Regions from separate parts of the Homo sapiens genome. Here region 2 is linked to region 1. Evidence: promoter capture Hi-C in human tissues and cell types (Jung and others, 2019). All regions are on one chromosome and are shown on one strand. Each heading gives the region's core, a stretch centred on a gene start or on the middle of the fragment in contact. The rest is flanking DNA. Distances are from core to core; before and after follow the strand shown.

What was found. The method cuts DNA at HindIII sites, captures the fragments that hold promoters and counts their contacts. A contact is called where the count stands out against the background at its distance.
Region 2: a contact is called between a fragment that was not itself captured here and the fragment with the promoter of DCXR in region 1, in 1 of the 25 tissues and cell types used here (spleen).

What each region holds. Positions count from the first base shown.
Region 1 is chr17:82,036,346-82,038,946 of GRCh38, forward strand. It overlaps DCXR (dicarbonyl and L-xylulose reductase), which reads right to left and starts at 1,352. Exons shown (of 8, transcript NM_016286.4): 1 at 1,286-1,352; 2 at 1,105-1,202; 3 at 514-668; 4 at 376-418; 5 at 199-298; 6 at 39-103. The coding sequence starts at 1,337. DCXR-DT (DCXR divergent transcript) reads left to right here and starts at 1,573. Exons shown (of 2, transcript NR_159948.1): 1 at 1,573-1,923. RefSeq lists a silencer at 743-1,572. The HindIII fragment of the contact is 8,854 bases long and covers 1-2,601 here.
Region 2 is chr17:81,877,977-81,881,734 of GRCh38, forward strand. No RefSeq gene overlaps it. Among named protein-coding and RNA genes, the nearest start is that of ARHGDIA, 8.5 kb to the left of the region's middle. The HindIII fragment of the contact is 8,262 bases long and covers 1-3,758 here.

The DNA of each region.
Region 1 (2,601 bases), core at 102-2,601:
GTGTCCTAGGTTGGGGGAGGTACCCCAGCCCTGCTCACCTTGTGGGGCCCGAGCTCTAGGGCCATCACCTTGGTCAGCATGTCCAGGGCACCCTTGGTGGAGCCTACGAAGAGGAACCCAAGCTGGCTGGGGCTGGGGTCGGTGATGAGGGCGAGGCTGGGGCTGGGGTGGGGCTGAGGGCACAGCTGGGGCACTCACAGTAGACGCTATGGTTAGTTACTGCCCGCTGGGAGCACTGGCTGGAGACATTCACGATGGCCCCTGGGACTCCCCGGGCTATTAAGCCCCTGGCCACAATCTGGAATCGCAGCGAGACCGTGAGGCAGAGCTGGCATCACTCACGAGAATTCCCGTCCAGCCCACAGGGCAGCTCACCTGCGACACCTGGATGACCGCACGCAGGTTCACCTCAAAGGATCTAGAGGCCGAGGGACAGACCCTGGTCAGAGATTAGGGCTGCTGCGTCCTCCAGGACAGCCCCTCCCTGAGGTTCCTCCGCCCTCACAGGCTCACCTGTCAAAGGCCTCCTTGGTGACCTCCAGGAAGGGCTGCAGCAGGGCGACAGCGGCGTTGTTCACCAGCAGGTCCACGGGGCCCACGCTGCCCAGCGCCCGCTCGGTGGCCTCCCAGTCACCCAGGTCCACGCACACGGGTTCTATCCCCGGGCACTGTGTGTATCAGGGGGCAGTTACCAGAGGCTCTGTGCCCAGCAAGCGGCACAGCTGGGGACTGGGGCTGGTGACCTTTCAGCCGGACAAGTAAAGGAGTTAGGAGTTCCGAAGGTGTCGGGACTGTGGGGCCAGCAGCCGGGCGCTACCTCCGGCCGGTTCACTTCCTCCCTGCGCCCGAGCGACTCCTGCCCGGGGCCTGCTTCGCAGCCATTTCGGCCTCTTTCTGAGCCCGGGGGCCCCGGCGGCTCTGCCGACCACCCGGCCGCCCACGCAGGCCACCAGCCCCGAGAGAGGGTGCGCGGGCGCCCAGGCCGCGGTGAGAAGCGCAGCGCCCGCGAGGGGAGGCGGAGTCGCGCACAGAGGTACCGCCCCCGCTCGCTGCCGCCCCCTCCTGGCTCGCCGCCTCGCAGCGCTGGGACCCGGCGGGACCTACCTCGCGGACAAGGCTGTCAAGATCCGCCTGAGTCCGGCTCACAGCCACCACCCGCGCGCCCGTCGCGTGCAGCGCCTGGACCGTGCCGCGCCCTATACCTGCCGGGAGCGGGCTCAGTGAAGGCGTCCCCTGCCCGCCTCTGCCCGCCGCCGGCCTTTGCCCACCTTTCCCCGCCGCCCACCTTTGCCTGCCCCGGTGACCAGCACCCGGCGGCCCGCGAGGAACAGCTCCATGTCGGCGCAGTCTCCGCCCTCCGCACTGGGGCTGCGGAACTTGAAGCTCTGGCCACGATGGGCGGGGCGCGGCGGGGCCAATGGCAGGGCGGCCTTCAGATAGGCGGTGGGGACATTCAAATAGCTGCTCCCCGCTGCAGTGATTGGCCGAAAGGAGTGGGCGCGCCGGGGCGGGGCGGGGTCTCCGCTGCCTCAGGGACGGGTCTTTTGAAGTGCCTGGTGTGACCCATCTTCCGTGCTTGAAATCGACGTAGTGGACCCTGGCTAGCATATTTTTCCCTGCCAAGATTATTGCAAAAAGACGATGTGGTGGTTAATATCGGAAAGAATGTGTGGTTAATATCAGGAAGAACACGTGAAATGGAGAATTTCAGGGCTAACATTTCTTGTTTTGTTTCTGAAAACATCGGCATGTCCTAAAAAGTGTCGCCTGTGCCCATCATCTCTCAGGCTTGGGAGCAGGACACCGCCGGCTCACTTTAAAGCCAAGGGAAAGAATTTGGACAACCAACTACGTCTGGAGAAGACACCAATGTCAGCAGAGCTCCGCTTTCATCTGTGGGCGAAGGATTACCTAGATGCCAAGGCAAGAGACTGAAGACACAAACTGTTTCAGTATAACAAAGAAAATAGGCCGGGAGCGGTGGCTCACGCCTGTAATCCCAGCACTTTGGGAGGCCGAGGCGGGTGGATCACGAGGTCAGGAGATCGAGACCATCCTGGCTAACACGGTGAAACCCCATCTCTACTAAAAATACAAAAAATTAGCCGGGCGCGGTGGCGGGCACCTGTAGTCCCAGCTACTCAGGAGGCTGAGGCAGGAGAATGGCGCGAACCCAGGAGGCGGAGCTTGCAGTGAGCCGAGATTGCGCCACTGCACTCCAGCCTGGGCGACAGAGCAAGACTCCATCTTTAAAAAAAAAACAGTTAAAATAAAAATAGTCATAATACAAATTAGATATAAAAATGATCATGATCATGGATAATTATCAATCATTAGTATAAACATTATTAATCATTAGCTTTTAATATTACTCTTTGTTGCATTACTAATATAACCTAGGGACATTGTGAGAAGTGACCTAGAAGGCAAGAGGTGAGCCCTCTGTCACTCCCGCATAAGGGCTGCTTGAGGGCTCCTTGGTCAAGCAGTAATGCCGTTGTCTGGGAAGCCACCCGTTACTTAGAAGACTGCGAAGGGGAGTCTCCTTTCCTTGGAGGCGTCAGGGAACACTCTGCTCCACCAGCTTCTTGTGGGAGGCTG
Region 2 (3,758 bases), core at 432-2,931, 160 kb before region 1:
TGGACTTGTCTTCTGGTCCTACCTGTAGTGAGGTATGGTTGGTTCTGGGAAGCTGGGCTGGTCCACCCATTATCAGTGGCCTCCTCAACTGTCATCTTCAATTTTCACTGTTTCTCACATGCATCATTTTATTGGACACTTCAAAGTGGTGATTTTCTAATTTTGGGTGTGTTTTTTTTTTTTTTTTTTGAGAGAGTCTTGCTCTTTTGCCCAGGCTGGAGTGCAGTGGCGCACTCTCGGCTCACTGCAACCTCCACCTCCTGAGTTCAAGTGATTCTCATGCCTCGGCCTCCCAAAGTGCTGGAGTTACAGGCATGAGCCACCGTGCCTGGCCTGATTTTCTAATTATTTCTGTATTTCTTAGCTGGAATTATTTCTTTTTTTTTTAAAGGACCCCGTCATCAATTGTTGCCCCAAAATTATAGAGTTCATACAGAAAAGACAAATTAAATGCCCGATTCTTTCCTTTTATTTGCCAATTTTTATGAGTCAGTGCCTTACAACTTCCAAAGGTAAACATGAGGCTTCTTTCCTTAAGCATCATCATGAACTCTTAGATGTTCATTTATTCAACACAAACTAAAAAAGGAATGTTAAGTCTTAAGATATCATTAATACTAACTTGCATTACTTGTTTATGAAGGATTAATATACTAAATAGAATATATGCTCACATTTTTATATGTAGATATTAATTTACAAGTAATTAACATGCTAAAACATTTTATAATTCGCTTCAATAACGTGTATAGATAACACAAAAATTAACTCTGGCCTACCTTAGGCTACATGATCACAGACAAGCTGATGTAATTAAAATGAGAAGATTTATTTCTTGGTACTTTCATGGCTTTATTTTTACATTAAAGTCTTTTATGATGTATTATTTATTGCTATCTTCCACCAAATGCTTGGCCAGTCAATCCCAGGGTGATCTTAATAATAACAACTAATACATGTAAACCATAAACATTTATGAAAATTATATATCCTCATATAAATTTCATAACATATGTAAGTTACAAAAGAAAGAAAAAGTCAACGAGGATATGGGGGAAGCCAAAAGGAATACAAACTAACAAATGAACCTAACTATGTACAAATTATGCAAATCACATAATTTGCAGGAGGTGGAAAGAAAGAAAAGAACTCATCTAGGCAACTTTTGAAACCAGTACTTAGATGCTACAGGTCAAACACAAAAACAACAGTACACGATTAAGGAAGTAAGGTGCCTCCATAGTGACTGCGCCTCCCTGGGGCACAGGTTGAACAGTTCACCTACAGCACTGACATGGCCTAAGCGAATGTCCTGTCAATCTGAGAGCCAGGTTTCTCCCTGTCACAGGAAGAAACTACACATAAGGAAAGGGGCAGGTGAGACAGGAACAGCAGGAACTAGACAGCTACAGAAACCAACAGGGCGGGTAAATGCACAAGCACGTGTCATAGATCCACTTCCCAGCTCTGTCCCAGGAGGGCCCAGAAGCAACAAGCACAGCCAGTGCCCAGGTCTTGGTTGCTAAATCCCAGTCTCCAGTGAGGGAGGGCTCCCTGGAGAAGCAGCTGGGTGCAGAGCTGGGACAAGGAAAACTGAAGACATCCCAAAATAAACAAGTGCTTAAATAAGGATAGGGCACAGGAGACAATCTCCAGGAGCTCCCAATGGCCAAAGCGTGGAAACAGTATCAGATTATGACTCACAGAATCCAACAAACAGCCCTTGCGTTCATACTGATATATAAAGAAAGAAATCGTAGGTCAGGCGCAGTGGCTCATGCCTTTTGGGAGGCCAAGGCGGGCGGATCACTTGAGCTCGAAAATTTGAGACCAGCCTGAGCAACATGGGTAAACCCCATCTCTACAAAAAATACAAAAAGTCAGCTGGGCATGGTGGTGAGCACCTGTGGTTCTGGTTACTCAGGAGGCTGAGATGGGAGATCACGTGAGCCCGGGAGGTCGAGGCTGCAGTGAGCCGTGATCGAGCCACTGCACTGCAGCCTGAGCCGCAGAGCAAGACCCTGTCTCAAAAAAAAAAAAGGGAAAAAAGCTGAAGGGACTGCTCTTTCTTAGAGATGAATTCCAATTAATAAACGTCAAAGGAATGAGGAAAATGCAAAAATCACCTTTGAAAACTAAGTTAATAATTACTGCATTGCAAGACCCACCAGTGGATGCTGAAATTAATTAGTGGGTAGGCCGGGCACGGTGGCTCACGCCTGTAATCCTAGCACCTTGGGAGGCTGAGGCAGGTGGACTGCCTGAGCTCAGGAGTTGGAGACCAGCCTGGGCAACACGGTGAAACCCCGTCTCTACTAAAAATAAAAAAAATTACCTGGGCATGGTGGCGCGTGCCTGTAATCCCAGCTACTTGGGAGGCTGAGACGGGGGAATTGCTTGAACCTGGGAGGCGGAGGTTGCAGTGAGCTGAGATGGCGCCATTGCACTACAGCCTCGGCAAAAGTGAGACTCCATCTCAAAAAAAAAAAAAAAAGTGGGTAAAACTTGGAAGTGAAACAGACATTCACTTAGTCTGGAAGTATCTCCCCAAGGTATTTATGGATGACAAAGGGAAAACAGTAACTATGTAGGGGAGAAGCCCCGGCAGCCGCTGCCACCACCTGAACTAACAGGACCAGGAGTTGGACAGACTGACATTGCATATCTCCACTATGCATTGAGAAGATGACATCCCAGCTGTGGTATTCATGCCAAAAAATAAAATAAACCAGCAGGGCGTGGTGGCTCAGGCCTGTAATCCCAGCACTTTTGGGAGGCCAAGGCGGATGGATCATGAGGTCAGGAGTTCAAGACCAGCCTGGCCAGCATGGTGAAACCTTGTCTCTAATAAAAATACAATAATTAGCCGGGTGTGGTGGCGGGTGCCTAAAATCCCAGCTACTCAGGAGGCTGAGGAAGGAGAATCGCTTGAACCTGGGAGGCAGAGATTGCAGTGAGCTGAGATCACACCACCGCACTCCAGCTTAGAAGACAGAGAAAGACTCCGTCTCAAAAAAAAAAAAAAAAACAAAAAACAAAACCTTGTCCAGTCATAAGGTCAGAGTCCCCAGTGTGAGGGACATTCTACAAAATAGCTGAGAGTACCCTTTAAAAGTGTCAAGGTCATAAAAGACAAAAGCTTCTATAAATCTGAATATAAAAATAACACTTCAGAAAATTCATAAATAGAGAAATAGGCTGACATTAATAGGCTATGTTCGGTGTGGTGGCTCAGGCCTGTAATTCCAACACTTTGGGAGACCAAGGCAGGAGGATCCCTGGAGCACAAGAGTTCAAGACCAACCTGGGCAACATAGTGAGACCCCATCTATACAAAGTTTTAAAAATCAGCCAGGCGCGGTGGTGGGTGTCTGTAGTCCCAGCTACTAAGGAGGCTGAGGTGGGAGATCCCTTGATCCCGGGAGTTCCAGGATGCAGTGAGCTGTGTTTGCGCCACTGCACTCTAGCCTGGACATCAGAGGGAGACCTTGTCTCAAAACACAATTTTTCAAAAATTTAGTTTTTTAAAAAAGATATTGAGATGCTACAATGTCCATTTCAGGAAGAATATCATAGCACTTTTGAGACAAGTTTCTTTTTTTTTTTGAGACACAGTCTCGCTCTGTCACCCAGGCTGGAGTGCAGTGGTGCAATCTTGGCTCACTGCAAGCTCCGCCTCCTGGGTTCACGCCATTCTCCTGCCTCAGCCTCCCCAGTAGCTGGGACTACAGGGGCCCGCCACCACGCCTGGCTAATTT